Regions from separate parts of the Homo sapiens genome. Here regions 1, 3 and 4 are each linked to region 2. The links are contacts of gene promoters, found by promoter capture Hi-C in blood cells and fetal thymus (Javierre and others, 2016). All regions are on one chromosome and are shown on one strand. Each heading gives the region's core, a stretch centred on a gene start or on the middle of the fragment in contact. The rest is flanking DNA. Distances are from core to core; before and after follow the strand shown. Region 1 has its middle 33 kb from the start of CRYGD. Region 2 holds the start of FAM237A (family with sequence similarity 237 member A). Region 3 holds the start of CRYGA (crystallin gamma A). Region 4 overlaps LOC105373854 (a long non-coding RNA gene).

What was found. Contacts are between HindIII fragments. The CHiCAGO score rates a contact against its expected background, and 5 or more counts as called.
Region 1: a fragment that was not itself captured here is called in contact with the fragment with the promoter of FAM237A in region 2 in 6 of 17 cell types (total B cells, naive B cells, non-activated CD4 T cells and 3 more); the score reaches 10.7 in total B cells.
Region 3: a contact is called between the fragment with the promoter of CRYGA here and the fragment with the promoter of FAM237A in region 2, in 5 of 17 cell types (non-activated CD4 T cells, total CD4 T cells, total B cells and 2 more). The highest score is 8.1, in non-activated CD4 T cells.
Region 4: a contact is called between a fragment that was not itself captured here and the fragment with the promoter of FAM237A in region 2, in 4 of 17 cell types (total B cells, naive CD8 T cells, naive B cells and 1 more). The highest score is 9.0, in total B cells.

Annotation. Positions count from the first base shown.
Region 1 is chr2:208,088,750-208,094,523 of GRCh38, forward strand. No RefSeq gene overlaps it. Among named protein-coding and RNA genes, the nearest start is that of CRYGD, 33 kb to the right of the region's middle. The HindIII fragment of the contact is 238 bases long and covers 4,400-4,637 here.
Region 2 is chr2:206,639,346-206,644,662 of GRCh38, forward strand. It overlaps FAM237A (family with sequence similarity 237 member A), which reads left to right and starts at 3,142. Exons shown (of 3, transcript NM_001102659.3): 1 at 3,142-3,237; 2 at 4,882-5,303. The coding sequence starts at 4,892. RefSeq lists enhancers at 2,332-2,913, 2,914-3,493. The HindIII fragment of the contact is 6,542 bases long and covers 1-5,317 here.
Region 3 is chr2:208,160,569-208,166,449 of GRCh38, forward strand. CRYGA (crystallin gamma A) reads right to left here and starts at 3,021. Exons shown (of 3, transcript NM_014617.4): 1 at 2,980-3,021; 2 at 2,636-2,878; 3 at 172-508. The coding sequence starts at 2,988. The coding sequence ends at 236. It overlaps C2orf80 (chromosome 2 open reading frame 80), which reads right to left. Exons shown (of 9, transcript NM_001099334.3): 9 at 4,779-5,247. The coding sequence ends at 5,239. The HindIII fragment of the contact is 8,974 bases long and covers 1,179-5,881 here.
Region 4 is chr2:208,072,762-208,077,980 of GRCh38, forward strand. LOC105373854 (a long non-coding RNA gene) reads left to right here. Exons shown (of 4, transcript XR_923815.3): 4 at 4,195-4,437. LOC124905439 (small nucleolar RNA U13) reads right to left here and starts at 1,401; the gene lies at 1,300-1,401. The HindIII fragment of the contact is 4,110 bases long and covers 1,604-5,219 here.

The DNA.
Region 1 (5,774 bases), core at 3,269-5,768, 1.5 Mb after region 2:
CCCCCATGGTTTCCAGCTCTGACTGCACATTAGAATCAGCTGAGGGACTCTACAAAGACCGGGAAGCCTGTGCCCTACCTCTGACTAAGTCCTACTTCTGAGTGAGGCCAAACTTTGGGATTTTTTTGAAAAGCTGCCCACACGGTTCAGGTGTGCATGCAGACTGAGAAGCACTGCTTTGCTAGAGTGTCCTGGAGGGACGGGCTGATGAGCGATAGGATGCAACATTGATGTCCCTGCAGAGAGAGCCAACAGAGGAAATAGGGGAAGAGGAAGAATGCTCCTAATCAAGTTGTAGAGAACTTACCAGACACCAAAGTCTGACGTATATCAATTAAAGAATTTGGAAACTCAACGTGGAAAAAATGGCAGCCAGAAATAACATACAGATTTCCTCTGGGCGCGGTGGCTTACGCCTGTAATCCCAGCACTTTGGGAGGCCAAGGTGGGTGGATCACCTGAGGTCAGGAGTTCAAGACCAGCCTCTCTACTAAAAATAGCATCTCTACTAAAAATTAGCAAGTATGAAAATTAGACGGGTGTGGTGGCAGGTGCCTGTAGTCCCAGCTACTTGGGAGGCTGAGGCAGAGTGGCGTGAACCCGGGAGGCGGAGCTTGCAGTGAGCTGAGATTGCGCCACTGCACTCCAGGCTGGGTGACAGAGTGAGACTCTGTCTCAAAAAAAAAACCAAAAAAACAAAAAAATTAGCAAATGTGGTGGCACACACCTGCAATCCCAGCTACTGGGGAGGCTGGGGCACGAGAATCGCTTGAACCTGGAAGGCAGAGGTTACAGTGAGCTGAGATTGCGCTACTGCACTCCAGCCTGGGCAATAAAGTGAGACTTTGTCTCAAAAAAAAAAAAAATACAGATTTCTTTTAAAATCTCATAACACTCTTCCATAATCTGAAGACAAACAGATTTATTACAAAAAAAAAGGAGTTAAAGTCCATGAATTCATAAATATCTTTATTAAAGAAGAAAAGATAGTTTTATTTCTCTAAAAGAAAGGCAGGCTGTCTTAAATTAGCTTCCATCAGCATTTAAAAAAATATTTAAATATTAATAACTGCCCACTTGGAGGAGAGTGAAGGAAACTGGCTTGACATTGAATGACTCTGCAAGTAGTCATTTAATTATAGAGTAGCTCCATGTGTCTACCTTACAAAAAAGTAGAACACTTTCTAGTTTAAATATTGGCTTCCTGAACAATTATCGCATTTGCTTCTTAAAAAATTCTGGCAAGGTAGTAGGGTAGGAATTTCTGTTGGTGTTTGAGAGACAAGGACACTGAGGCTCAGAGCTGCATAAAATCATGCAAATAACAGGAAGCACATTTGAGACTTGGCTTCCAAGCTTGTGATTCCAAATCTAACTTCTCACTGCATCATCCTACTGCTCATTAAAAGTGGGAGCTTTACAAAGCCTTGATTTCAGAGCAGTACAGAACTTTACAGAAGTTCAAAGTCTGGTTTTCAAAATGAGATAATAGATTGAAGGACCACATTAGGTATATAGTAGTGGGTTGCTTAATTTTACGCGTCAACTTGACTGGGCTAAAGGATGCTGAAATATCTGGTAAAACATTTCTGGGTATGTCTGTGAAAGTGTTTTGGGAAGAGATTAACATTTGAATCAGTAGACTCGGTAAAGAAAATTAAGTTCATCAATACAATAATTTTATCATTTTATGGATAATTTTATCCTTTTAGGGCCCAAATAGGTCAAAAAAGTAGAGGAGGGTGAATTCACTCTGTTTGAGCTGGGACATCTGTCTTTCTCTGCCATCAGACATCAGTGCTCTTGGTTTTCAGGCCTTTGGGTCTGAACTGGAGCATACACCATTAGCTCTCCTGTTTCTCAGGCCTTCAGACTTGGACTTCAGAGTTCCAGTGGAATTGCATCACCAGTTTTCTGGTTCTCCAGTTTACAAACAGCAAATTGTGGGACTTCTCAGCCTTCATAATCACATGAGCCAATCCTCACTACAAATCTCCTCTTATATACACATATGTTGTTGGTTCTAGTTCTCTGGAGAACCCTGAAGAGACCTGGCCATTCAAAGGCATGGGATAATTTGTAGATAACTCTAAGGCTTGCCTTTAAGAGATCAGTAAGTTCATTGGCCCTATTTTCTACACAGCTCATGATAGAAAAATCTTAAAACTTTACACAATAATTCCATTCCAGGGTCTACTTACCTTTACCAACAGGAAGTGCTTATCTAACCTGAAATTTTTCAGTACACTTTTTTTTAAACAGTCTAAATTTATTTATTTATTTGTAGATTACTCTAAGGCTTGCCTTTAAGAGATCAGTAAGTTTATTGGCCCTATTTTCTACATAGCTCATGATAGAAAAATCTTAAAACTTTACATAATAATTCCATTCCAGGGTCTACTCACCTTTACCAACAGGAAGTGCTTATCTAACCTGAAATTTTTCAGTCATATTTTTTAAAACAGTCTAAATTTATTTATTTATTTATTTATTTATTTATTTGAGATGGAGTTTTGCTCTTGTCACCCAGGCTGGAGTGCAATGGCACAGTCTTGGCTCACTGCAACCTCCGCCTCCCAGATTCAAGCAACTCTCCTGCCTCAGCCTTCCCAGTAGCTGGGACTACAGGCACCCACCACCATGCCCAGCTGACTTTTGTATTTTTGGTAGAGACAGGGTTTCACTATGTTGGCCAGGCTGGTCTCGAACTCCTGACCTCAGGTGATCCACCCGCCTCGGCCTCCCAAAGTGCTGGGATTACAGGCATGAGCCACCATGCCAGGCTTAAAACAGTCTAAATTTCAAGGAAGAAGAAACATGTTCTACTTCATAAAGCTGCATGTGATAGGGTGCTAACTGGGAAATCGGAGATGCTCTCCATAGACTCCACTGTCAGTGTCTGTGTTCCTAGTGAATGAGGGAGCCAGTGACTAGTTTGCCTGTTTGTTAGCAGGAGTGTCTGCTACATGCTGTGGCATGAAGCAAGTTATCAATTTTCTTTGGACTTTGTAGTGAGCATACTCAGGTGATGAGCACTTGTTTTTTTTTTTCTTTCTTCTTCTTCTTCTTATTATACTTTAAGTTCTAGGGTACACGTGAACAACATGCAGGTTTGTTACATATGTATACATGTGCAATGTTGGTGGAGCACTTGTTTTGTTTTGATTTTTCTTCTTGGAATCCATTCTACCTTCAAGTACTCCTCTTTTCCTTAGAAAACAGACCTCATCTCAATAAAAATATAAATAAAAATTAATTAATTAATTTCAATCAATTAAATTTGTTAATTAAAGAAATTTTTCCAGCTTATATTTTCAAAAGTAATGAAGTTTTGTGAACATTTTCAATAGCCCAACCTAAATTTATAATTGAAGATAAAGTAGACTGCTTCAAGAAGTCTAAATGAACAGAAATCTCTCTTGCTAAAGATAAGTGTTCAATGCTTTGCATTTAATCCCCAAAATACTTTAGATCCAACTTTGCTTAGAGAACACCCAGTAAAAGATAAGCAACAGCTGTTATGTTTGACCTACATGTGACCTCTTCCTCATTCTCATTCCATGTGGCTTAAGTCTCATTGACTCTATCTCCCAACTCCAGGGTTTGCTTCAGCCATTTAGAGTATTCTAAGGCTGAAACAGTTGAGGACCACTGAATTAGTCAGGGTTCTTCAGAGAAACAGAGCCAATGGGATGGATGGATAGAGAGATAGATAGACAGATAGATGAAAGAGGATTTATTATGGGAATTGACTCCTGTGATTATGGAGGCTTAGGAGTCCCCTGACAGGCTACCTGCAAGGTAGAGAACCAGGGAAGCTGGTAGCATGGCTCAGTCCAAGTCCAAAGGTCTGAGAACCAAGAGAGCCATTGGTGTAACTCTGGGTCTGAGACCAAAGTCCAGAGAAACTGAGGGACTGCTGGTGCAAATCCTGGAGTCCAAAGGCCAGAGAACCTGGAGTTCTGATGTCCAAGGGCAGGAGAAGATGGTGTCGCAGTTGCAGAAGAGAGAGCAAATTCAGCTTTCCTCTGCCTTCTGGTTCTGTTTGGACCCTTAACTAATCAGATGGTGCCCACCCACATTGGGTGAGGATGGGTCTTCCTTACTCTACTGATTTAAAAGCCAATTTCTTCTGGAAATACCCTCACAGATATACCAGAAATAATGTATTCCCAGCTATTTGGGTTTCTTAACCCAGACAAGTTGACACCTAAAATTAACTACCACAGCCACCATATGGAAAGAGCCTGCCTGAGAATAAAACCAACATAGAGGAAAGCAGAGTGGAGGAAGGAGAGGGCTACAGAGACCAGCTCCTGACGATCTCACCTGAGCCCCTGCATCCAGCCATGCCTGAAGGCTTTTGATTATGTGGAGCAATACATCCTCTTTTTGTTTAAGCTTGTGTGAGTTAGTTTTAGTCACTTGCAACTGAAAGAGTCCTGCCCAGCATATTATAACAGTGATCTCAGTTCAGTTATTTCTATTCTGATCTCATATAAGCTAATCTTACTTTCCTATTTTGCTAGAAGACAGAAATGAAGGTCAAATGTATGTCAAACATAACAGCTGTTGCTCATCTGCTGGGTGCTCTCAAAGCAAGATTGGATCTAATTTATTTTGAGGATTAAATGTAAAGCTTTGAACCCTTATCTTTAGCAAGGGAGATTTCTGTTCACTTAGACTTCTTGAAACAGTCCACTTTATCTTTAATTATAAATTTAGGTTGGGCTATTGAAAATGTTAAAAAAATTCATTATTTTTGAAAATATAAGGTGGAAAAATTTAATTAACAAATTTAATTGATCGATTTAAATTAATTAATTAATTAAAAATTATTTTTTAGAAGTGAGGTCTCACTTTTTTGACCAGGTTTGTCTCAAATACCCAGGCTCAATCAATCCTCCCACCTTGACCTCCCAATGTGCTGGTATTACAGGCGTGAGCCATCTAAGTTTCTAAGCCTGAAAAATTTCTAAGTTAAAAACTTGCAAGACTTGAAAAGAAGTGAGAGAAAGAATGAGGCTCATTCGAAAATGCAATTAGCAAATATTCTTGGGAGAAGACTCACTGAATTTCCAGTCCATATTTTCTGGCTTGTTTTCCTTAGGCAGGATAAAAATAATGACAGCTAAGTCCCTCCCTCCCTCCCTCCCTTCCTTCCTTCCTTCCTTCCTTCCTTCCTTTCGCAGGGTCTCGCTCTGTCACCCAGACTGGAGTGCAGTGGTTTCATCATAGCTCACTGCAACCTCCACCCCCTGTGCTCAAGTGATCTTCCTGCCTCAGCCTCCTGAGTAGGTGGGATTACAGGCACTCAACACCATGCCCGGTTAACTTTTTTTTTTTTTTTTTTTGAGACAGAGTCTCGCTCTGTCGCCCAGGCTGGAGTGCAGTGGCGCCATCTCAGCTCACTGCAAGCTCCGCCTCCTGAATTCACGCCATTCTCCTGCCTCAGCCTCCCGAGTAGCTGGGACTACAGGTGCCCGCCACCACACCTGGCTAATTTTTTGTATTTTTAGTAGAGACTGGGTTTCCCCGTTTTAGCCAGGATGGTCTTGATCTGCTGACCTCCTGATCTGCCCACCTTGGCCTCCCAAAGTGCTGGGATTACAGGTGTGAGCCACAGGCCTGGCCGCCCAGTTAACTTTTTTTTTTTTTTTTTTTTTTTTTTTTTTTTTTTTTTTTTTTTTTTGAGGCGGAGTCTCGCTCTGTCGCCCAGGCCGGACTGCGGACTGCAGTGGCGCAATCTCGGCTCACTGCAAGCTCTGCTTCCC
Region 2 (5,317 bases), core at 1,892-4,391:
AAGTTCCCCCTTCTTCCCTACCTACTTGGAATTTCCATTTGGATGTCAGTCATCTCACACTCAACATGTTTAAAACTAGATTCTTATTTTCCTTTCCTAAACCTATTCCTCAAATCATTTCTCCTTTCAGCTGATGGAAATTCAAATTTCCATTTACTTATTCCCCAAAAGTTGGTGTCATCTTCAACTTCTCTCTCTCTGTTGGACCTTATATCCAGTCCATCGATGAGTCTTATCCCTTCTACCATCAAAATATATTCAGAATCTGACCACTTTCACCCTCTCCACTGCTGCCACCCTTATCTATTCCGCCATCTTATCCCACCTTGATTGCAACAGCTCCTAACTGAGCTCCCTCCTCGTCCCTTGCTCCTCTCTGGTCTGTTCTCTACTGAGCAACCAACATGGATTTTTGGTCACTTCTCTGACCTCATGTCCTGCCACTATGCCTCAAAAACACCCTTCTCACACCACACTTGTTCCAAAGCCATCAGACTTGTTTTCCCACCCCCAGCCTGAAGCATTCTTTTACTATGCATGACTCACCCTCTCACTTTTTTGGGTCTTTGCTCAAATATCTTCTTATCAGGAAGGGCTTCTCTTAGTATTCTATATAAAATAGCTCTTCTCCATCATCCTTTTCCCTGCTTTACTTTTTGTTGATGACCCTTTGTTTTTTTCACAGAGACTCGCTTTGTAATCCAGGCTGTAGTGCAGTGGCGTGATCTCAGCTCAGTGCAACCTCCGCCTGCTGGATTCAAGCGATTCTCGTGCCTTAGCTTCCTGAGTTTCTGGGAGTACAAATGCGTGCCACCACACCAAGCTAATTCTGTGTATGTATTTGTATTTTTTTTAGTACAGATGGGGTTTTACCATGTTGGCCAGGCTGGTCTTGAACTCCCAACCTCAGGTGATCCACCTGTCTCGGCCTCCCAAACTGCTGGGATTACAGGCATGAACCACTGCACCTGGCTGACCCTTTGTTTTTCTTATCACATCTGACACTTTACTCATATATTTTTTCTTGGGCTTCAGAATGACGGATAAACTTTATTGACTCATGCATGGCACTACTTGTGTATTTAATTAGCTAGTTGTGTGTTTGTTTTTGATAGATAGCTGTAAACTCACCATTCAACATAGAAACTAGAAGCATAAATCATATATTATGTGTGTGCACACGTATACATATACACTATATATGTGTATAGATATAATTTTAAAATTAAAATATAAATAATTTTTTTCCATCACTCCAGACTCAACTAGCATGTAAGCTACATGCGTACAAGGACTTTGTTTTGTTCCTTCTGTATACACAGCATGTAAAATAGTGCCTAACACATAGGCACTTGAAAATAAAGTAAGCACTGCATGTTTATATATGAATGTTTTCAACAGTAATGTAACTATTGACACGTCCCAAACCAGGGGACACATCTTTACCTCTGTTCTGTTCGGCCTTCCCTCTCTACAGTCCTTTCTTTGACTTCGCTCCCTAGAAGCATGAACTGCGATGAGCACTCCCTTCCTGCCTTTGCTTGTACTGTCTTCTACCCCTGAAACTGCACTCCTGACCCTTTGGCTTTAGGATACCTGTACAACTCGTTTTTCCAGACATTCACGAGTCACCTCCAAATGCTTTCTCGATCTGACGATTATGTGTCTTGGGGTTGATCTTGTCATGGAGTATCTTACTGGAGTTGTCTGGATTTCCTGAATTTAAATGTTGCCCTATCTTGTTAGGTTGGGGAACTTCTCCTGGATGATGTCCTGAAGTATGTTTTCTCCAAAGGCATGAGCTCCTCAAAGTTCAGGAAGCAAGTCCAAGACTTCACCCTTGATCTTTTTCCACAGCCCTATGGGGTGAATAGAAGCAGACATTAGATACAGCTCACACATGGAGAAACTGAAGTACACTCCATCATTTCTGAGCAGGAGGAATAGCTCAGAGCCCCCCAGAACTCCTCTTCAGACCTCCTATTTAATGGTACCTTGGGGAAGGGGCTGGTTCTCTGTGGCTTCGGCAAATCTTACTACAAAGCCTTGTGCCCCTCGGAAGGTAACCATGGATACTATTGAGCTGGCACAAAAGCCTTCAGTTAGTGGAGACTACAAGTGGTTTTCAGGGGCTGAAGGAATTTTCAGGAAAGGGGCAAAACGTGGAAACACTTGCAGAGGGAAGACCTTTGCCTCAGGCCCCTTGGCTGGGTGTGTTTCAGTTAAGATGGGCACTTATGCTCAGAGGAGCACTGGAGCAGTGACAGGGCTCTAATCTGGGACTGGGATAGTAAGTAGCTGTGAGGTGAGAATCAAAGGGAATCCCAGGCGCTTTTTTTTTCTTGGAAAGCTGGGACCCTGCTGTGAAATCTGGAGCGGGGTTGTTGGGGGGTTGAGGTGCTGACCAAAGCGATGCCAGCAGCAACCCAGTCTCCTGAGTGACCCAGGCCAGGGTCTGGAAACAACGGGGTGTCCTGGCAACAGTCAGGGGGAGCTTCCAGCAGGGCGAAGTCCCTATCCTCATCTCTGCCCTCGGGGGTGTTTTTCTCCTTTCGGCCCAGGGCTACAGGCAGGAGAAATTCACACCTGGAATATCTCGAGGAGGCGCCTTATTTCCTCTGAGCCCTTGCTGAGTGTCGAGAGGCAGCTCATGTCCCTCCTCCGACCCCAAGAGTCCACAGTCTTCCCTCACACCCCTTTATTCTCGGACGAGGCCCGTGTGGTGAGCGGGAACCCCTGCTGTCCCCTGGACCAGCGCGGAGCTGGGCCCTAACTTTGCAGTTCCCGCCGCATCGGCACGCACCCGCGAGGTGGGAGCGGGAAGCCCAGCCGCATTAGAGGCTCAATTCCGGCAGGTGCAGAGTGGGTGCGGGTCAAGGCCAATGAGAGTGTGTGTGGCCAAGCCCGCTGGTTTCCTGAACCGAAATTCTCCGGGGAGGGAGAGAAGAGGAGGGTGCGGGAGACGGACTTGGAGGCGAGAGGTGGCGGCAGTTTCCAGGAGCTTTGACGTAGACTTGGAGAGGCGCCGAGCACTCCCACTGCTTAAGTAGAGGCACGGTAGCCTCCAGGACGCGGAAGCTGGGGACAGCCACTCGCTCGGGAGCAGCCTGAGCGTTTCCTCTCCGCGTACTCGAGGGAACTCTCTCCACGCGTTCGAGGGAACCCGGAAGGGGCCAGGCGGGTGAGTGCGGAGGGAAGCCCTTGTGCCATCTGGGAGTAGAGCCGCCGAGTCAGGAGGTGAGTGGGGCCCAAAGGACAGAGTGGGTCCCTGGCAGCTCCGCCCTGCGGAGGGTGAGGCTGCGCAATCAAGTGCGGGGCCGAGACTCAGCGCGGGGCTCGTAGCGGGGTGCACGGAGGACTCTAGGTTCAAGGAACTCAGAGAAACACCTTTCCAGGGTCTGGGAAGCCTCTCCTAAAATTTAGAAGGGGACCTAAAGGAGCCAATTTGAGCGCCGTGGCGCCAGCAGACAGGGAGTCCCGGATAACGCCAACTTCAGTACCTTGGACAGAGTCCTGCCCTCTGAAAACTTAGCTTAGACTTGTCCTTTAGGAAAACCACCCTTTGAGGTACCTCGATATTTTAGTTCGGAAAGGGACACAACAAATATGATTTCAAGTAGAGATAATGCATACATGATATGAAAGATAGAGGAAATAGTTTTTGAATAATCTTGTATCTCTAACATGCTTCTTCAATATAGGAACATGCATGTTCAAAGACACTTTCTGAAATATTTATTTAACAGTACCTAAACATGTCCTACTGCTGTTCAGAAGAGACAGATTATCCAACTTATGGTGTTATCATTAAATATTCCAATATAAGAGTATTCCCACAAGCTGTATTTTGCTTGCTTTCATGATACTAACATCTAAAAGGTTTGGAAATATAATACAAACCTGAAAGTGAGCTGTATGTGCCCTTCCTATTTTTTCTTTATGTTAGAGCTGTTTAAATGTGATACACATTTTGTATAGTCTGTGAAGGAATATATACACTTTTTCTGGCAAAAAAAGTGAACATTTGGGTTATTATTATTTCAAGAGCATCGTTTATCATTGCACCTGTCCGAAGTGGTAACAAAAGAACAATTTCAAAGTGGTATGTAGATGACTCAATTTTATGGCAACAGACATTGAAAGCCAGAAAAGTTGAATGAGAGTCACGTTTTTTAAAAAAAAAATCCTTGAGATTCATAGCAAGAACAGAGAGATTATAAAACATTATCTTTATGAAAGTTATATCAGAATTGCAGAACATTATTGGTATTTGTAAAATGCTTATTGATTCTACTCTAATTGGTTGAATATATGTCTCTTTGTTTCCACATATATTCATCCATACTTTTAGCACATTGTCTTTTGTTAATTTTACTATAACATTTGACAATTCTGATGTATTTTTTAAAAAAATTAAAAGTCACAGTGAACAGGAATGGATCTAAAGGTTAAATATATTTAAATTCTTAATTATATATAAGTCCTAGATTAGGAGAGCCAGGTTTCGCTAAGATATTATGGAATAGTTAAAGCCATGCAGCAAAATTTTAAATGTTCACTTAGTATGCTGTTAGGCTACATTCTTCTGTACCAGAGAAAAACAGATTAGCAGATTAATTTATTCATCTTGTAAAGGAACACATCTTAGGAGGGAATATGTCTTGGCCTGACCGTCTTGGATTTATGTTCACTCCCTGGCCTGGCAATGAGTCATTTTAGATAGAACGGAGCTTGTGATATGGGAGCTTGGCTAAGATTTCCCTACTTTGTGACAATGATGTGTTTCCTTTGCTGGAAGTAAGGTTATTAAGGGCATACTTATTTTCTTTACTGAGCAGAGCACAAGCGGGGACTGATAAGAAATATTTCCATCCTGTGCAGTTTTAGGGCCATGGCTGATCCTGGGAACAGAGGAGGGATCCACCGCCCCTTGAGCTTCACCTGCTCCCTGCTCATTGTGGGAATGTGCTGTGTATCTCCTTTCTTCTGCCATAGCCAGACAGACTTGCTGGCTCTTAGCCAAGCTGATCCTCAGTGCTGGGAATCCTCCTCAGTGCTTCTCCTGGAAATGTGGAAACCTCGCGTTTCCAACACTGTTTCAGGCTTCTGGGATTTTATGATCTACCTGAAGTCATCTGAGAACTTGAAGCATGGAGCACTGTTTTGGGATCTGGCCCAACTCTTCTGGGACATCTATGTGGACTGTGTGCTCTCTAGGAACCATGGCTTAGGAAGGAGGCAATTGGTTGGAGAGGAAGAGAAAATCTCAGCAGCGCAGCCACAGCACACAAGGAGTAAACAAGGTGGTCAACCCCAG
Region 3 (5,881 bases), core at 1,771-4,270, 1.5 Mb after region 2:
TGTAATCCCAGTTACTTGGGAGGCTGAGGCAGGAGGATTGATTGAACCTGGGAGGCGGAGGTTGCAGTGAGCCGAGATAGCGCCATTGCACTCTGGCCTGGTGACAGAGCAAGACTCCATAACAAAACAAATTATAAAATAAATAAATAAAGATAAACAAGAGCCACTTAGTGCAGGGAACACAACTTGTATATTTATTATGTTTCTATGGGGATCACAACAAGGCAGGCACAGCTTAGTACAAATCGGTGACCCGTCTCAAAGAGCCGACTTTGGCATCTGCACCCCCCCAGTCGTGGTACCTTCTGTAGTCCCCAGGCCTCAGCAGATACTGCCGCCCCCGGTAGTTGGGCATTTCATAGAGGACCCAGCAGCCCTCCAGTACGTGGAGGGAATAGATCTCAGGGAGACGGAACAGTTCTGGAACACAGGCGCAGTCATCAGTGAGCTCAGACATAAGGCCTCGGTAGTCATCTCTCTCGTACAGCCTTAACTTGTGCGAGCTGGTCTGTCATGGCAATAAACAAAAGAACAAAAATAAACAGCATGCATCCTTGGGTGTCAACGAAAGTGACACAATCAGTCTGCATCTTCATGAAGCATGGCTTTTATTTTATTTTTGAGATAAAGGTCTTGCTGTGTTGCCCAGGCTGGAGTACAGTGGCAGGATCACTGCTCACTGCAACTTTCACCTCCTGGGCTTAAGTAATCCTCCCACCTCAGCCCCCCAAGTAGCTGGGATCACAGGTGTGCACTGTGACACCCGGCTAATTTATTTTTAAAAATTTTTTTGTAGAGAGGGAGTCTCACTATATTGCCCAGGCTGGTCTTGAATCCCTGGGTTCAAGTGATTCTCTCACCTTGGCCTCCCAAAATGTTGGGATTACAAATGTTGGGATTGCACCTGGTTTGAAACATGGTTTTTTAAACCAGTTGATAAAGTGTTTCTCCCCTGAACCCACTTTCAATGTTGTTATTCTAACAAATTAGGGAAAATATTAAAACGAATCTGACCTGATCAATGAACTGGAGATGTTGTGGAAGAAACAAACATTAAAATACAGGGAATAAAAGTGTGTTCTTTGTAAGCAATCATCAATACAATTGTAGTCAGTGAGTCTGTAGTGAGGATTTCAACTCTCATTTCCATTTTGACTCCATATAATTGAGTCTTATCAAGCTTGTTTTTGAGTCACTTTTTGCACTTATAATTTACAGTGATTTATATTTACACTGAGTCCACATGTATTTTCAAGTGACATTTTGCCAAGTCACTTGTGCCATTTGGGTTTCTTGCCCCAGAGAAATGCCTATTTTATTTATACCTCTTTGCGCATCTGCAAATTTTTCTGGCCTAAATTTGTTTTTTTATTTTTTTATTTTTTTTTAGACGAAGTCTCGCTCTGTCACCAGGCTGGAGTGCAGTGGCATGATCTCGGCTCACTGCAACCTCCGACTCCTGGGTTCAAGCAATTCTCCTGTCTTAGCCTCCTGCTTAGCTAGGACTACAGGCATGCACCACCATGCCTGGCTAATGTTTTGTATTTTGGTAGAGACAGGGTTTCACCATGTTGGCCAAGCTGGTCTTGAACTCCTGACCTCAAGTGATCTGCCCAGCTCAGCCTCCCAAAGTGCTAGGATTACGGGCGTGAGCCACTGAGCCTGGCCGTGATTTCAATTCTTGAATCTCCTTGTCACACTACATAATTTGGTGCCAACAGAAAGTGTAAATACATGCTGCACGTGATTAAAAAAGATTAAGCAGCATTTTGATGAGGACCATGTTCTATGAAATCCTAATCAATTGTGTGTCTCTGATATTTATAAGAAACTAGTTGATAATGACTCCTGGAAATTATAAATCCACACAAGTTGAAACATATTTTCCTAGGTTCTAGTAAGTCCTAGAATGTAGTGAAAAAAATTTCCAATGCAGTCAGAATACATTATACCTATATTGTTATCTCATAGTCTGTTAACTTTTCATCATTAAAAAATAATTATCATGGCCGGGCGCAGTGGCTCATTCCTATAATCCTAGCACTTTGGGAGGCCGAGGTCGGGAGTTCGAGACCAGCCTGACCAACATGGAGAAACTCTGTCTCTACTAAAAATACAAAATTAGCTGGGCATGGTGGCACATGCCTGTAATCCCAGCTACAAGGGAGGCTGAGGCGGGAGAATCGCTTGAACCTGGGAGGCAGGGGTTGTGGTGAGCTGAGATTGTGCCATTGCACTCCAGCCTAGGCAACAAGAGCGAAAGCGAAGTTCTGTCTCAAAAAAAAAAATTATCTAGATAAACTAGATAGACTTTTCTTTTTTTTCTTTCTTTCTTTTTTTTTTTTTTTACTACTGAATAAGGTGACTTTTATGTAGAAATTAGGGATCACCTAGATGTTACCAAGTTTAATTTAAAGGCTATGTTGTGATTTCCCATGCCCTAAAATGATGTCCTTAAGTAAGAAAAATAGAGATTATTGTTACTTTTTTTTTTTATATATGTTTGAGGGTCAGGCCTTGCTATTCTTACTGTGAACACTCATCCTGTGTTGGAACAAACTGACTTTTATAAACAGGAATTGATGGCCATGGATCATTGATGCTTTCACATCAGTCAAGTTGAAGCAAGACTCACATGAGGAATTATACGGCAGGATTGGACCGAGTCGCTGAGGCCCATCCAGTGCTGATAGTCGGGGTACTTGCCTCGGCGCAGGAAGTACTGGTGGCCCTGGTAATTGGGACGCTCATAGAGCATCCAGCAGCCGCTGTCTACTCGGATGGAGTTGCAGCGGCTGAAGTAGACCCGCAGGTTGGGGCAGTCACTGATGCAATTGTAGCAGCGACCCTGAAAGTCTCGGTCCTCGTAGAAGGTGATCTGAGGTAGAAATAAGGTGACAGTAGACAGTCAGCTGGAAGGAACATCCCCACACACCACAGACCCCCAATAGACATGGCACAGCACCTCCACAGGCTCACCTTCCCCATGGTTGTTGACAGAGGGTGATTAGCATCTAGTATGATAGGGACAAAGGGGCAACTGGTATATATAGCAGGGAAGCTGCTGTGTTGGCAAAAACAACACAAAAGGGACCTGGGGGTGGTGCGTAGGGGGATTTCTGTATTCTCTTTTTTTTTTCATTTGAGATCATGGGGCAGTGGGCTCTCTCTCTTTCTGGCATTTTCGAGTTGTCCTCACTAGCTCCAGTGAAAGGTATTAAAGTCAGCAGAGCCATTATGACCTTGGAGACAAAGGGCACACTTCTCATCCTATGCAGCTCACTAGAAATGCATTACATGCCCAGCATTCTGCAATGTTTGCCTATGGAAACTGCTGAGATGGAGGTTGGTGGTTCCATCTGAGGTCACTTATGAGAACACATGCGTTCCAGAAGGACTTGAAGTGTGAAGAGGCAACAAAAAAAATCCCAGACAGAAAATCCTCTAATTGAAAGACAATTATATTTCTTAAGTGACTTCATCAGTATGATAGGGTTTTGATAAAAATATTTTGCCTATATTTATGTAGGGAAAACATAAGATTAGAAGTGTGTACTATACCAACATATCAATCATGGTAATCAATGAATGGCAAGATTATAGATCTTAGCTTTATGTTGTTATATTTTGTTTTTTGCTGCTGTTTTCTTAATTTTCTATTATATCTGCCATCTTCAGCCAGACAGAAAAAAAAATTCGATTATAAATATAACAATTTCATGAGATGAAAAAATAATAAAATCAATCTTTAAATGTATGACTTTGAGGTGCTGGTGAAAAGCAGTAAATACTGGAAGCAGGTATATTTAATCAAGAGATTAAACACTTCTTGAGCTAAAAATAAAAAGAAACCCTGAGAATCTGTGAGAGGCTCGAAGAGCAGAAAAATACACAGGAACATTTCACTCCCCTCCCCCTGCCACCCTCCTTCTAGCATTGCTTTTATTTTTTAAAATTAGCGTGATGATTTGCCTGTGTTTTTCCTTTCAATAGTATCACTGTTTCATTGAACCCAAGTGACTGCCTAACAGCCTTCTCCATTGCTGCCAACTTATTGATTTAGAAGTACTCCTCAGATGTGCAAGTGTGGAGGAAGACTCCAAACCCCAGACTGTCTTTTGTCATTCCACATGTATGTAGGAAGATGAAATCAAACACCTTTGTGCTTTAGACCCACCGAGGGATTCTAAAAGAGTATTTGACCACAGCTAGCAACACATTCACAATGTCATTTGTGAAAATCCTCAGGCAGCATGTAAGGCAAACGCGCAGGTGGTAAAAGGAGAGACAGCAGTAGCTACCGAGAAAAAAATGTTTCCTCATAACTAGCAGAGCTAGGCAAAAGAAAACTGGGTGAAGTCCTATGAAGCTAAACACCTAGCAGTGCATGCAGGGACCGCAAGTTGCTGATTCCCTCCTTTGCCTCCCCCTAATTAGCTGCAGGCTTACTGGTAAATCTTAGAACCATAATCAAACCCAGTGTGGAAAACGCTGCATTGGTCTCCCAGCCCCACATGAGAATATACCACCATTTTCAGAAAAAGTCTACAATCTCCATCTGTGTTTTTGTACATGCTGATGAAAACTGTTCTGTAGACAGATGGCACACCAAAACCTTAAGAAATGTATTATGTGTACTGACATTCATGTGATCAAGTTGTTATTACATACATTGATAGGCTAAGCCATGTGCCTAATCAGCATTTTGGAAAGGTACTAAAAGACCAGAACATCTTCCCTCCTAGTAGTCATTATAGTCTACTGAGAGAAAGCCTGTATTCATTTTTTTAATGCTTTATTGAAATGATTTAAACATTCTTTTCATATGAGAACACAGTAAAGGCAATCAATGACAGATTAATTTTATTTTGGATTAACTCTTTGGAAATCTGCCTCCCACTCCATCACTGTGCAATATTCAATGCCACACATTTGTAAAATGTGCTACAAAGCCAGCTTGCTCTAACACAGAAATACTATATACTTTCTGAATTCTCCAGCAGTCTTCCAGTCACAATGAAGTAGCATAAGGTCACAGTTTTTTTTTTTAAGAAAATGTAGCCATGCAATATGCTTCTAAAAGAAGAAAGCTCAACATCAAAAATAACACTTCAGTGCAGTTGTACCAAAAACAGTTGTAAAGAAAAATGTACTGGCAAGAGCTGTGGTTTTAAGATGATGCTTCTCGTCTGCTCCCAGAGAATCTATTATGAAGTTCCATGGTACAATTCCAATTTTCTAAGTGACCTGCAGAATAAAAGATGATTTTGGTATCAAGCACATCAATTTAACATGGACACAGACATTACTTTAAGTCTATAGGAAGTTAAGGTCAAATATCAGATACTAACTTACTGACAAAGATAGATTAGATTAATGTAATTACAAAGGAATTTTCATGGAATTATTCTGATATATTTGGAAATTGAGTTATATTTCCCAACTAAATGCAATATGTGATCCCATACTGGATCTTATACAGAAGGAAAAAAATGCTTAAAAAGAACATTATTGGGTCAATTGACAAAATTGGTGTATAGAGAGTACATTAAATAAAAGTACCAATAATAGATATTCTGAAGTTGATAACTATTCTATGGTTATTTAAGAGAATTACTTTGTTCTTAAGAAATACACACAGAGGTACATAGAGTAAAGTGGTAGAGTATATATACATAACTTCTAATGGCTCAGAAAAAAATTATATATCTTTATCTATATACAGAGAGACAAAGACAGAATATAATAAAGCTAACAGAACAAAACATTAACCATTCGTGACTGTATAAAAGGAATACGTGGGTTCTTTGTATATTATTCTTGCAAATTTTCTCTAAGTTTGAAATTATTTTTACATTAAAAAGTTATACTTCTCTTAACC
Region 4 (5,219 bases), core at 2,409-4,908, 1.4 Mb after region 2:
AGGAATGAAGGGCCCAAATGTCAAGAGTGAGCCTTTCACACTTCACTCTAGCTGACTGCAGCACGTAGGAGAAAATATAAATTCAAGGCATCTATCCTGCAAATTTTTTTCAAGCAACTTACGCTACTCTTAAAAACCCTGTTTATTAAAGTATTACATATATACAGAAAAGTGCACACATTGTAAGTGTCTAGTTCAATGAATTTTCAAAAACTGGTCACACCCCTGTAACCAGTACACAGATCAAGAAACAGAATGTCACCAGAAACCCAGAAACCCACCCGTGCCCTTGTGATTTTAACAGTATAGAGTTCTTTTGCATGTTTTTATATTTTATAAAAATGAAATCATACAATATGTACTTTTTTGCATCTGGCTTCTTTTCTTCTTTTTTTATTTTTTGTTTTTTTGTTTGTTTGTTTTGTTGTTTTTTTTTTTTTGAGACAGAGTCTCATTCTTGTCGCTGGAGTACAGTGGCATGATCTTGCTCACTGCACCCCCTGGGTTCAAGTGATTCTCATGCCTCAGCCTTCTGAATAGCTGGGACCACAGGCATGCATCACCACACCTGGCTAATTTTTGCATTTTTCTGTAGAGATGGGATTTCGCCATGTTTCCCAGGCTGGTCTTGAACTCATGAGCTCAAGTAATCGGCCTGCCTCAGCCTCCCAAAGTGCTGGGATTACAGGTGGGAGACACCACACCCAGCCTTGAAAACACATTTCAATATTTTGTTAAAGATGAGCAGAAAAGGGCCAGGAGCGGTGGCTCACACCTATAATCCCAGCACTTTGGGAGGCCAAGGTGGGCAGATCACGAGGTCAAGAGTTCAAGACCAGCCTGGTCAACATGGTGAAACCCCGTCTCTACTAAGAATACAAACATTAGCCAGGCATGGTAGCGTGTGCCTGTAATCCCAGCTGCTAGGGAGGCTGAGGCAGGAGAATCACTCGAACCCAGGAGGCGGAGGTTGCAGTGAGCTGAGATCGCGCCACTGCACTCAAGCCTGGGCAACAGAGCAAGACTCCGTCTCGAAAAAAAAAAGAAAAAAAGGTGAGCAGAAAAAGTTAATAGTGATTTTCCTTGGTAAAGCCTTAAGGTTTATACCAAAATCATAATCATAGAGCAGATGGCTGGAATAATACAAGATAAAGTTCACTCAACTTTAACAGTGCCTTCCCAGTATGGAAGGAATACAGAAGCTTCTTTCTCATGGGGAGGTGGTTGTGTTGAGGTGGCAAGGGCACTAAACTTATGATCAGAAGAACTAGGACTGAGTTTTGTTGTTGTTGTTGTTCAGGTTGGATGGGTAATGTGCCAGCGCTGTAACAAGGTTCAGAGGGAGGCACATATCACACTTAGGCACAAACACCAAATCATGCTCCTGAACTACAAAAGGAGTGAGTTTTACTTGGCCAGTTACCATTTCTGAGCTTCGGGTAGGTCATTCACTCTCTGAGTTTCATCTGTTAAAATGGACATGCCAATATCTGTCCCATAGAATTGTGTAGGGGAGGAAAAAAATATTTTTTCCTCTACTCTTTCTGATTCTTAGCACAAAAGATAGATTAACAAACTTATTTAAGTTTTACATGACATGGGAAGCTTCATAAGGAAATGAAGACCCAAAGAAGCAGTTAAATGTGAGCGTTGTTTATTGTAGGTTTAGTGAAGAGTGGACCACTGTGGAGAAATGTGGTAGGGCAAAAAGGGTATGATCTAATGGTAAGAAACGGGGAAACGCAGCAAGGCCTGTTTGTTCACTTTAAAATTTTTTTTTTTTTAAATAGAGAGAGGGTCTTGCTATGTTGTTCAGGCTGGTCTCAAGCTCCTGGGCTCAAGCCATCCCTCTGCCTCAACCTCCCAAATTGCTGGGATTACAGGCATGGGCAACTGCACCTGGCCCTCTGTTTTCTTTAAGACCAAGAAGTAAGACCTAGAGTGTTGAAAAACGGATAGTACTGATAGGGTAAGTGGTTACATAAAACTACATTACATAAATTACATAAATATTTCCTGGAAGCTCTGAGCCTGTCAACTGCCCAGCGTGATTCCTCACCCTGCCCTGTTCTGCACTGTGGGAACCTTTAGTCTGCAGGCTTCCTTGCTCCGTGAGTTTTGTATATTCTGCTGGGGACAGGCATGAGTGGATGGGTATTTCTCCCGCCTCTCTGTGCTTCCTGTGATGTCTTCCACAGCAGCAGAGTCTCTTTCAAGGCTCTAACTCCCTCTGAAAGGCCCTCCCTCCATGGTCCAGACCCCTGCAAGGGAGCCTCTATAATGGTTCTATTTCCAGCCAGACAATTCTAGCTTTTAGGCTGAGAATAGCATCTCTTCCTACTGTCCCTCCAGCCCACGGATGTTAGCTGATTCTTGCTGTCGCTAATCTCCGGGTTACGTCACCACCCCGTTTGGCATCTCAGCTCTTCTATCACTTTTATAATCTATTTCCTGAATTAAATTCCCCTGGATTGAAAGAGTGGCTTCTATTGTCCTGACTTGATACACTCTGATTTCATTCCTCTTCCACAAAAATGCTCAGTTCCTCACATTTATAGGAATATTTTTCTCCTTCACAAATTTTCCTCTTCTTCTCTCTACTGTGGAGGAACTAGCGTGGATTTGGAATCAGGCTGGGTTCAGACTTGGGTTCTGTTATTTCAGAACCATATGACTTGGGGTAAATTGCTAGCTTATAATAAGTGCTGAATAATTGTTTGTTAATGAATGAATGATATTTAACCATTACAATGCCTTCTGAAGATTTAAAAATTTTTTTATTTAAAAATTTATTTTGAAAGGGCAGGGTCTTGCTATGTTGCCTAGGCTGGAGTGTAGTGGCTACTCACAGACACAATTATAGTGTGCTATAGTCTTGAACTCCTGAGCTCAAGAGATCCTCCCACCTCTGCATCCTGAGAAGCTGGGACCAGAGGTCCATGCTGCTGTGCCCAGCAAACATTTTTGAGTGGTATAAATACAAAGCATTAGTAGTATACAGTTGTTCTAGAAGGACTCATTTTTAAATATTTTCTAAAATTATGTATATAAAGAATTTGGTGTAATCCCAGCACTTTGGGAGGCCAAGGCGGGTGGATCACGAGGTCAGGAAATCGAGACCATCCTGGCTAACACGATGAAACCCCGTCTCTACTAAAAATACAAAAAATTAGCCGGGCGTGGTGGCGGGCGCCTGTCCCAGCTACTCGGGAGGCTGAGGCAGGAGAATGGCGTGAACCCGGGAGGCGGAGCTTGCAGTGAGCCGAGATCGCGCCACTGCACTCCAGCCTGGGCGACAGAGCGAGACTCCATCTTAAAAAAAAAAAAAAGGAAGAATTTGGTCTTCAGGAAGACCATACTCAGGAATATGTGGTATTTGTTCAGCATTAGCTTCATCGCATAACAAGCCATGAGGGTTTTTCTCTTTTGCCTTTATAACTCTATAGACTCACATAACTATTAAAATACTATCACCTTGCATTATAATTATCTCATTTACCGTTATTACTGTTCTGCCTCCCTCCCTCTAGACTATAAATCTCACGTAGTACTTGGCACATAGAAAGCTCTCAAGAAACACTTGTTGAGTGAAGAAATATGCTATTTGATGTCTTATGTGCCTGTGTCCTTAAGCCATAGCATGCATGGAGGCCCTGAGCCATAGTAGAATTTGAATAAATGTTTGTTGTGTTATGAATCCAATATTTAAACGAGTCCAAAGGATTTAGCACTAGTTTCAATGATGAAATCAGTCAAGTCAACTTTTATTTTTAAACTGGATGTCAATTACTAATCACTTGCTAATCACTAGTTTCTAAACTAGGAAAGAGAGATGCTTTGGTCCAGAGGTTGTTTGAGTGAAGTAAGCATTTAGGTACTTGTACACTCAGTACTTCTAGACTTCCATCAAAAATTCTTCCCCGCTAAAACATTGCACTTTAGGGGTGTTTGAGTCATCCTTGTGTGGCTGAGAAAAAAAGTCCTAAAAAGTGACAAGCTAGAATGGAGGAGGGATGTCACTCTTTCCAAGATCTAACAGAACAAAGAACAGCATGATTATGGGGGGCTCAACTGCTTTGTTTGCCCGTGGTTTGAGTTTGGCCAAGGGTGAATACCATTAAGGGATCTGAGAGTGGGAGAAGAGTGAGGCCAGGATATTTATTCACCTGTTTCCCTATTGCTGTGTCTCCACAGGTTGGCTGCATCCTTCTTCTGAAGGCCACTGCTCTTTTCAGAAGACCTCCCTAGATGGCTAAGCTCTCTGGGTTGCAACAGTTGCTCTTTTTCCTTGAGCCTTAGGTTAGGGAGTTGGGAGGAAGTAATGGCTTCCCCCACTGCTAGCTCCAGGGTGCTACACTTTCTCTTTTCTAGTTTCCCTAATCTGGCTTACACCATTATAGATAGACCCTTTATTAAAATATCCTCAATTTATCCATATTGAGTGTGCCATCTGCTTCTTTTTCGGATGCTGATGCTTCAGAGTGATATGGGAAAGTATCCCAGGCATTTTTGTCTCATTCATCACACCTAGAAAGATAATTTAGGATTTGATGATGAAATAGCATGGTAGAAAATATAGCATACAAAGTTTTTCCTTGGAAGACAATCACTGGACATTCTCAAGAATGGCAAGAGAAGGCATAATAAAAATAGCTGCCAGATGGGGGACAGGACTGACTTGCAGCTCTCATGCTGACTTGCAGCATGAGGAGACTCACATTGTGAACTTTTGCTCCAAGAACTACTGCAAGAACATACCAGGAAAACCAAAAGAATTCACAGACCCTTTGAAAGAAGAGTTTGCCGCTGCAAACTCCAAGACACAGCTGAAAAACCGTGAGTGCCCAGAGTGTGAGAGGGGGAAAGTCTCTTTCCAAACACACATCCTCACTGGGGAGCCTGAAAATCCATATCATGGGAGAAGGATTTAACCTTACCTAGAGCTGAGGCGAATTTAGAGAGCTGAGCAAAATATAAAAGTAGAAGCAGCAGCAGGAAGAGCCCTGTAGGCACTCCCGGTCCCCAGGGAAGCTCAGAGAACCCATTTCTGACTTTATCTCACAGGGGCCCTTGTGGGGAGCGGGCTGCCAGTGGAATTAGGGAAAGCCCACAGGGAGAAGGAAACTTCCAGCTGAACTTTATAATGATTTCAAGCATGAATTTTCCAGAGCAGAATCTGGGGTCGGGGGCAAACAGGAAGTCCAGATAGGAGCACAGAA